2 separate regions of the Homo sapiens genome follow, and region 2 is linked to region 1. The links are contacts of gene promoters, found by promoter capture Hi-C in blood cells and fetal thymus (Javierre and others, 2016). All regions are on one chromosome and are shown on one strand. Each heading gives the region's core, a stretch centred on a gene start or on the middle of the fragment in contact. The rest is flanking DNA. Distances are from core to core; before and after follow the strand shown. Region 1 holds the start of AGBL3 (AGBL carboxypeptidase 3). Region 2 overlaps STRA8 (stimulated by retinoic acid 8).

Region 1 (4,560 bases), core at 784-3,283:
ATCTAAAAGAGTAACCTAGCAAGGCCCCCCACTCCCAGCATCCCCTATTCTTTTTTTTCCCCCCTACTTGATTTCTCTCCATAGCGGTTATTGTCTGAGTGATATCATTTTTATTATCATCATTGGTTTGTTTGATTACTCCCACCAGAACATAACCTCCACAATAAATGTCTGGTTTTTTTCCTTGCAATAGTGAACTGTCCCTAGTAGGCAGCAGCCATCCAGTGAATTTGTTATACCAAGGCATGAGGATCTCTTGGGACCAGTAGTTTGAGTCTGCAGTGAGCTATGATTGTGCCTCTACACCCCAACCTGGGTGACAGAGCTGTCTTTAAAAAGAAAAAAGTTGTTAATAAAATAATGAATGAATATCATTTTCAAAGTTTTGCCAAGTTCCTAAGTTTTTGGCCAGGCACGGTGACTCACACCTGTAATCCCAGTACTTTGGGAGGCTGAGGTAGACGGATCACTTGACACCAGGAGTTTGAGACCACACTGGCCAACATGGTGACACCACGTCTCTACTAAAAAATACAAAAATTAGTGGTGGCACGTGCCTGTAGTCCCAGCTAGTCAGGATGCATGAGAATCACCTGAACCCCAAAGGCAGAGGTTGCAGTGAGCTGAGATTGCACCACAGCACTCCAGCCTGGGCGACAGAGCAAGTGAGATTCTGTCTCAAAAAAAAAAAAAAAATCCTAAGTTTTTAAAATTATGCATTAAGATCATTTTTCTTCCCATGGACTACTTGGTATGTGATAATATAACTATTTGGACTAAAAATCACGAGACTTAAGTCTCTCAGCCCTGCCATTAATTTCTTATATAACCTGGTTAGACCATTTCTCAGTTTTACCTTGTACAGCTGACATCCTATGGCTTGCAGCCATGACTAAAATCCAACAGAAAAACAGATTACATAAATAAAGATTTCTCTGTGCATGTCACCTTTAGTGATTTATGTATGGCATAAAACAAGCTTCAACTATAAGAGCTACTTTTCAAGAGGTTGATCTAAGATATACTCTATTAATATTCTCTGGCCAAGGTCTAATCTGGAAGGTTCATACTTTTAAACTGCTGACCTCAAAAACACCTATTTTCAGATACTTACAAAATACAAAGAGATTATGTTAACCCATTTCCATGCTTAAGCCATAGTGCTTTGCCCTTTATTCTACTTTCAAACTTGCTACCATTTATTATCTCCATTTCTACAATATCACGAATCTCATGACATATAACGCTTTGTGAAAAGTGTTTATTTACATTCTTATATCATCAAAATCTAGACTTTTTTTCAGCTGTACTTGGAAAACTTTTCCAAATAGATTACCTTACCCTGTAGAGCTAAAGATGAGGGAAAAAATCAATATGGGATGTTCATGAATAACGTCTGTTAACTAAATGAGACTACATATAGTGATTTGCAGTCATCAGGAAAACAGTGTTAAATATGCTAGCTGACGATTGCTATAAAGAATCTCTGAGCTGATAATTTTGAGAATTCACCCTAGTTCATCTATGACTCTCCATTTAGTATTTAAGGAGAAAAGCCTCATTTTCCAGAATCGAATAAGCGAATTAATCGCACAATTGTGTAGAATGGAACTCAGTCTGTAAAAAATCAAGACCAACGTACTTTTTAATATTCTAACATCTCCAAGTAGTAGTTACAAGTATTGTACCCATGAAGTCCAGGTAATTAATTTGTTCAATGTCACACTGTTAAAAGTCAGGTGGGCTCCAAAGCACAGTCCTAACCAGCATGCTCTACTGCCTCCTCTGAGGCAACAGCCGAAGTGCAGACCACTGGGAATAAATAGCTGCCCGGTCTTCCCCACTCCTAAATTCTCCCGACAGACCCCAAAGCCTCTCTGAGAGCCTCTCTGACCGCCCTGCGGCCCACCCCGAGTTCCCGGCATCCTCTGGGATCCCTCTTCCTGGAGCCAAAACCTACGCAGGCTCCTTTCCTCCGAGCTGGTTGCTAGGTGATCTCCGAAGGCTGTCCGAAGTCTCGCGAGGGCGGACCCGTTGCCTGATGACGAGAGTTGGGAGTGTGGCTGGGGCTGCGGATCTCCAGCAGTGGCGTTACTTCTAGCGGCTGGATACCGGGTTCTCCGCGAGATCGCGAGATCCCGAGATATTCTCCCCGCACGGAAGCGACGACTGGCCTGGCCAGAGGACTCGCGTGGGAGCGAGGTGCCGGCCCCGACAGGACGGTGAGGTATGCAGAAGTAAGGCGGGGCGCCCCCTGCGGGAAGCGAGCGCGCCCCGGAAAATGAGCGCCTCCCCACACCAAGGTGTCCAGGAGTGAGTGCGGGAAGGAACTCGGCCGCCCGGAGTTGTGGCCTCATCGTGCTTCCCGCCAAAAACGCCTTGGTACTGTCGGGACGCGGCTAAGCGTGGACGCGCCCGCATCTGCCCCTCCTCCGCAGTGGTGGAAGACACCCGCGGAGCGCCGGTGGATAAGGGCCGTTTCCTGAGACCAGAGCTGTATCCGCAGCAGGTCAGCACTTCGTGCGCCCTGTGTGCACCTGTAAGGAATGGAATTTAGGCCAGTCGGATTTTCCAAATGTGGAGTTGTGATGCCCAGGCAGAAACTTCAGTTTCTTAGGACTGAAGGTGTCATCTATGAGACAGTCGGTTCCGTGGCATTGGCAGTGATTTGCCATAGAGCTTGGACTTAACTTATATGTAGTCCACGCTCCAAAACACGCTTCCTGTAGAGAGGGGCGTAAACTAATAGATTTGAAATTGTCGAGTCCTTTGGTCTCTCAAGAACGATGGGAACTTGACAAGAAATTTCGATTATTCCCTGGTCTTGATATTACCCACATGGGAAGATACTTGCATAGAATGGTAATGGTCATTACCAATACAACCTTCTGGTAGCTATTTAGATTTCTAAGAATAAGAATAATATAAATGAATATTAGAACAGACAGTATCTACAGAATAATAATCAAAATGTAAAGTCTTGTCACTTGAACTTTTGGTCAAGTGAAAATCAAGGAGAAAACTTAAAATTATATTGCTACATTTCAGTAAGTGACTATAATTTTTAAATTCATTATCTTTTAATGCCTCAGGATCATTCTGAACTTGCTGTGTAGTATTTAATTGTAAATATAAAATGTGAATGATTTGGCTGTATACTCTGGAAATTCCTTTTAATTAAATGATTTGCTTGATTTGTCTTATTGTGGTTGTTGTCTCGTATAGTCATGGAAAATTCCTTTAACTCTTTGAAATTGAAGGTTTTATTAGTTGTATTCTAATTAGTTTTTAGAGAAGACTGTTGTGACTGTTAAATACAATTGAATATATTTTTGAGTACTCATTTAATGTAGTAAACACCTACAGCTTGAAAAGAAAAGCTGTCATATAATTTCCTTAGAAATTGTTTTACAGCCTACCCGTATATTACAAGAAATCTCAAGTCAAACACTGGAAAAGATGTCAGAAGATTCAGAAAAGGAAGACTATTCAGACAGAACAATCAGTGATGAAGATGAATCGGTATGTTTTTCTCAACTTTATTTTACTTGGAGATAAAATTTGTATTATATAAATCCCCAATTAAAATATTATAAAATCAATTGGATATAAAAATCAATTGGATGTTTAAATTATTGTCATTGAAGTTGGGAAATAATTTGGCTGAAAAAGCTAAGCTATCACTGGGAACACTATGCCCTGTCTAGAAAGAGAAACTATATTTGTATTTTTTTTGAGAAAATATTTTAGCTAAGATTCTTCTAGGTTTTATTAAAATTTGTATATGAAATTATTAGTAGGGTTTTAGTTTTAGGATTGATGTCCACTTATTTTCTTCTATGTGCTGATTGGATTGTGTTACATCGTAGTATGAATCATAGTAGAACCACCGTGTTCTAACCTTATTGTGTATCACCATAACAGTTTATTGTGGCTCTGATGTCATAAAGGAAGAGACATGGAAGAAGAAAAAGGGGGAAAAACGTAGTATTTAAAATTCTTTAGTCTTTTTCTACTACATAGGCTGCGAGATTTCCTTCAAATTTTATTAAAGTATAAATTATGTATGTAAACTAATGTCCCGAAATAAGCTCTTAAAGCTTACTTTAGCTATTTAAAGGATTTATGGCTTTCTGTGTTTTTCTTTTTGTTAATTTAATTTTTTTTTTTTTCTTGAGCCAGAGTTTGAGATCGCTCTTGTTGCTCAAGCTGGAGTGCAATGGCGCGATCTCGGCTCACTGCAACCTCTGCCTCCTGGGTTCAAACGATTCTGCCTCAGCCACCCGAGTAGCTGGGATTACAGGCATGTGCCACCATGCCTGGCTAATTTTTTTTGTATTTTTAGTAGAAACGGGGTTTCACCATGTTAGCCAGGCTGGTCTCAAACTTCTGACCTCAGGTGATCCACCCGCCTTGGCCTCCCAAAGTGCTGGGATTACAGGCATGAGCCGCCACGCCCGGCCAATTTTATTCTTAATTTAAATAGTTTTCCCGGGTTTATCAAGAATCTTTAAACTTTATTCCTTCCATAAAGTCATTATTATGACCACACCCAGTGGA
Region 2 (4,560 bases), core at 1,526-4,025, 260 kb after region 1:
CCCATCTCCCTCCCTGGAGAAAACTGGATCTGTTTTTCTATTGAAAACAGAAGTTGGGTTACAATGAATCAACAAATATTTATTGAGGGCCTACTGTGTGCCAGGAACTGTGCTTGGGCCAATGTTGAGGGTCCCTGTCCTTAGTGAGCCTGCAGTCCAGCAAGACTGGCCAGAGTCACCAGGCCATGAGACTCTGATGAGTTCCCTACTGGAGTGCTGCCAAAGGCACCTGATCTCATCTTCAGAGGCCAGAGGAAAAGTGGGCTCCTGCTTGTCTAAGGCTCTCCCTTCACACCTAGAAGGAAAAACTGGACCCTGGTCTCCCTAATGCTGACCCTGGAGGGTTCAGGGTCCCACCCACAGCCCACCTGGGCCAGAAGGGTGGGAGAGACTCAACAGAGGCCTGACTTTTCTCTTTGTGTTCCTGGTCTTCAACTCCCCAATAGCATCCTTCAACCTGGAAGATGGGCATGCAAGCAGCTTAGAGGAGGTCAAGAAAGAATATGCCAGCATGTATTCTGGAAATGACAGGTAAGACACCACAAACCCCAGGAAGCTGGGGACCTGCTGTGTCCTCACAGCCATCAGTACTGTCTGGTGGCAACTCACCCTTCCTCTCCAGCCTGCAGGACCATCAGGGCTGCTGCTCACCATTCAAAACAGCCATATGCTGGAGACCATTCGTTTCTCTTTTATTCTAGCAACATGCATCAATTTTTTCCCAATTATAAAAAGATACATGCTTATCACAGAAGATGCAGAAAATACACAAAAGCCAGAAAATATATATTGTCCCAGAACTCAAAGAAAATCAATGTTAATTTTCAAGAAAATCCATCAAGTTTTTAAAAAATGTTGCACATTATTCTTTAGAGAAATGAGCCCATAGTGTTTACATTATATTATAGCTTTTTCTATATGTATTTTTTAAAGCCACAACTAATGTCTTTCTTGGAGGATACATATGACAATCAGGAAAATGCAAATCTCAGTCTATATTCCAAGCCTCCTAAGAAAAGCTAAATTAAACTTCAGCAACGAAAAGGAACCATGGTACACCCAGGTGTCACAAATGCTGAAAGGGGAACATTATTAATGTCACATTCATACTTTGAAGGAGAAACTGATTTGAGAAATGTACTTTTATGATCTCATGGTTTTTTGTTTTTGTTTTTGGTTTGGTTTGGTTTGTTTTTTGAGACGGAGTCTCACTCTGTCACCCAGGCTGGAGTGCAGTGGCATGATCTCAGTTCACTGCCACCTTTGCCTCCCAGGTTCAAGAACTTCTCCTGCCTCAGACTCCCAAGTAGCTGGGATTACAGGCGCCTGCCACCACGCCTGGCTAGTTTTTGTATTTTTAGTAGACACGGGGTTTCAACATGTTGCCCAAGCTGGTCTCAAACTCTGACCTCAAGGTATCTACCTGCCTTGGCCTCCCAAAGTGTTGGGATTACAGGTGTGAGCTACCACGCCCAGCTGAGCTTGCTTTTTTGACTCAACATGTTACCTTGGGGATTATTCCTCTAAGTATAAAGAGATCCTGGGTGCAGGTCCTGACTTTTCCAAATTATATCCTATTGTTTCATTCTCTTCAAGGTGTCTTTTGAAGAGCAGAATTTGCAAATTTTGATGAGTCCAATTTATCCTGTTTTTAATAGATTGAGCTTTTTGTTTAAAACTAAGTATGTCATTTTTTCATGCTATTGTAAATGATGCTTTTTAAAATTTCAATTTCCAACTGTTCATTGCTACTATGTAGCAATATTATTCATTTTTATATTCTGATATTGTCTTCTGCAACCTTGCTAAATTCCCTTCTTGGTTCTAATGACATGTGTGTAGATTATTTGAGATTTTTCTACACAGATAATCACACTGTCTGCAAATAAAGACAGATTTGTCTCTTCTGCTCCAATGTATATTCCTTTTTTTGCTTGCCTTACTGGACTGTCTAGAACCTCCAGAACAATTTTGAATAGAAGTAGTAAGAGTGGACAGTCTCATTTTATTCCTGATCAAGAGGGGAAACTGTCTTTTGCCATTAAGCACGATGTTAGCGGTAGGTTTTTTGGAGATACCCTTTATCAGGTTAACAAAGCTCCTTTTTATTCCTAGTTTGCTGAGAGTTTTTATCATGCATGGATGTTGATTTTGTCAGATGCTTTTTCTGCATCTATTGAGGTTTTTCTTCTGTAGTCTGTTGATATGGTGAATTGCATTGATTGATTTTCAAATGTTGAACCAGTTCTCTTGCATTCCTAGGAAAAAGCTCATTTGGTCATGATGTGTACACCTACACACACACACATACATATACATGTATACTTGCTAAAGTTGCTAAGAATTTCTTGTCCATGTTCATGAGGGATATTAATCTATAGTTGTCTTGTTTCTGTTTTCTTTCCCAGCCTGCTTTCAAACAGTTTTCCTCAGAATGGTTCCTCCCCTTGGTGCCCAACTGAGGCAGTCAGGAAGGATGCTGAGGAGGAGGAAGATGAGGAAGAGGAAGATCAAGAAGAAGAGGAGGAGGAAGAAGAAGAGGAGGAGGAGGAAGAGGAGGAAGAGGAAGAGGAGGAGGAGGAAGAGGAGAAAAAAGTGATCTTATACTCCCCAGGAACTTTGTCGCCTGACCTCATGGAATTTGAACGGTGTGAACAGTTGGGTGGGGTGGCTCTGTGCACCCATGGAGCTCCCTCCCATGGGGAAGGGGACAGAGGCTCTGGCTGGGGTATGCTGCAGCTGTGTGCCCCAGCTGGAGTGCATGGTTCAGACTAGGCCCTGAATCACGAAATCTCCAGGATTTTCATATGGGAGGGGCTGAGGGACAGGACTGGCAGAGAGGCTAGAGAAATAGTCTCAAAGCTACATTAGCATAGCACATACACTCATACAGTGTTTTTACTGAGACTGGGTGTTTATTTGGGGTGCCTTGTGGGGGGCACAGCTGATGGTGATTATGAGGGCTAACCCCTCTCTCCCCCAAAACACATACCCCCACAAGTCCGCACTGCTCTTACAGTAGGAAAGATGGCGAATGGCTGGCTCAGACGTCCCTTGCCACTGCCTCCTCCATAGACTCAAAGCCCCTCAGCAGCCATGTTGGCTTCCAGAGGAGTTGGCTCAATAGCAGGAGGCTCTCTCCACAGCCGAGCCTGACTTTCGGGCTGCAGGTTAAAGTTGGAGTCCTATCATGCCAGCACATTCATGGGCTCAGAATTTTCAAGAATATTCCCTTAGGATGAGAGCTGAGGCAGCTACGCCTCTTATCTGCTTCTGTCTAACACAGAAGGCTTCATGGGGCAGGGACTGGGAGAACTTGGGGAGGGGCCCCAAAGCCCAAGTCTATGTCCTTCATGGCCCCCAGGAAGGCTGCTGCTCTCCAAGGGCCAGGGGCGTGCAGAGTCTGAGAAGTCTCAGCCCTGGTGAGCCGTGGCGCCGTGGCCGGGCCTGCGTGCTGGGGTCCACACCATGAACCGAATCCCGAATCGCTTCGAGAGGGAGCTTTAGGGGTGCGAGACGGCGCCGCTTCTGTTCCAGGTATCTCAACTTTTACAAACAGACGATGGACCTTCTGACTGGCAGCGGGATCATTACCCCGCAGGAGGCGGCGCTGCCCATCGTCTCCGCGGCCATCTCCCACCTGTGGCAGAACCTCTCGGAGGAGAGGAAGGCCAGCCTCCGGCAGGCCTGGGCGCAGAAGCACCGCGGCCCTGCGACCCTGGCGGAGGCCTGCCGAGAGCCGGCCTGTGCCGAGGGCAGCGTGAAGGACAGCGGCGTGGACAGCCAGGGGGCCAGCTGCTCGCTGGTCTCCACGCCCGAGGAGGTGAGCAGGCCCACCGGGGTGGCGTGGATGGGGCACGGGAACCACCCTCGCCCTCGCCTGGGGACACCAGGGCTTTGCATTTAGCAGGTTGGAGGTGCAGTTTGCCTTCTGGCTCCCAAGGTCGGTTTCTGATTTTCTTTTTTCTCTTTTTTTTTTTTTTGAGACGGAGTCTCGCTCTGTCGCCCAGGCTGGAGTGCAGTGGCGCGATCTCGGCTCACTGCAAGCTCTGGCTCCCGGGTTCACCTCATTCTCCTGCCTCAGCCTCCCGAATAGCTGGGACTACAGGCGCCCGCCACCACGCCCGGCTAATTTTTTTGTATTTTTAGTAGAGACGGGGTTTCACTGTGTTAGCCAGGATGGTCTCGATCTCCTTACCTCGTGATCCACCCGCCTCGGCCTTCCGAAGTGCTGGGATTACAGGCGTGAGCCACCGCGCCCGGCCGGTTTCTGATTTTCTAATCCCTGGGGTCACGGAACAGTATTTGTTTTTCTGCGGTTAGTTTCCTGGCCTTTCCCTGGGGATGGCAGAAGACAAGTCTTGAGAGGTTGTCTCAGTTGGGATTCTTTGGGCTGCCAGGGCCTGGATTATTAAACCACGAAGAAATGCACTCCTCACACCCGGGGAGGTCCGAGGCAGGCAGAGGAGCTCACCATGTCCGCGTGGATTCAGGCCTCTCTTGGCTCTGCTCAGTTTCTTATCTTTCCCTGCCCTCCCCACCTCCTCCGGCTCCTGTGGC

Evidence for each region. The method cuts DNA at HindIII sites, captures the fragments that hold promoters and counts their contacts. A CHiCAGO score of 5 or more calls a contact.
Region 2: a contact is called between a fragment that was not itself captured here and the fragment with the promoter of AGBL3 in region 1, in 1 of 17 cell types (neutrophils). The highest score is 5.1, in neutrophils.

Annotation. Positions count from the first base shown.
Region 1 is chr7:134,984,475-134,989,034 of GRCh38, forward strand. It overlaps AGBL3 (AGBL carboxypeptidase 3), which reads left to right and starts at 2,034. Exons shown (of 17, transcript NM_178563.4): 1 at 2,034-2,227; 2 at 3,401-3,522. The coding sequence starts at 3,460. RefSeq lists enhancers at 1,936-2,235, 2,246-2,385, 2,466-2,725. The HindIII fragment of the contact is 3,121 bases long and covers 978-4,098 here.
Region 2 is chr7:135,242,880-135,247,439 of GRCh38, forward strand. It overlaps STRA8 (stimulated by retinoic acid 8), which reads left to right. Exons shown (of 9, transcript NM_001394401.1): 4 at 447-531; 5 at 2,409-2,648; 6 at 3,538-3,823. Among named protein-coding and RNA genes, the nearest start is that of STRA8, 11 kb to the left of the region's middle. The HindIII fragment of the contact is 6,230 bases long and covers 1-4,560 here.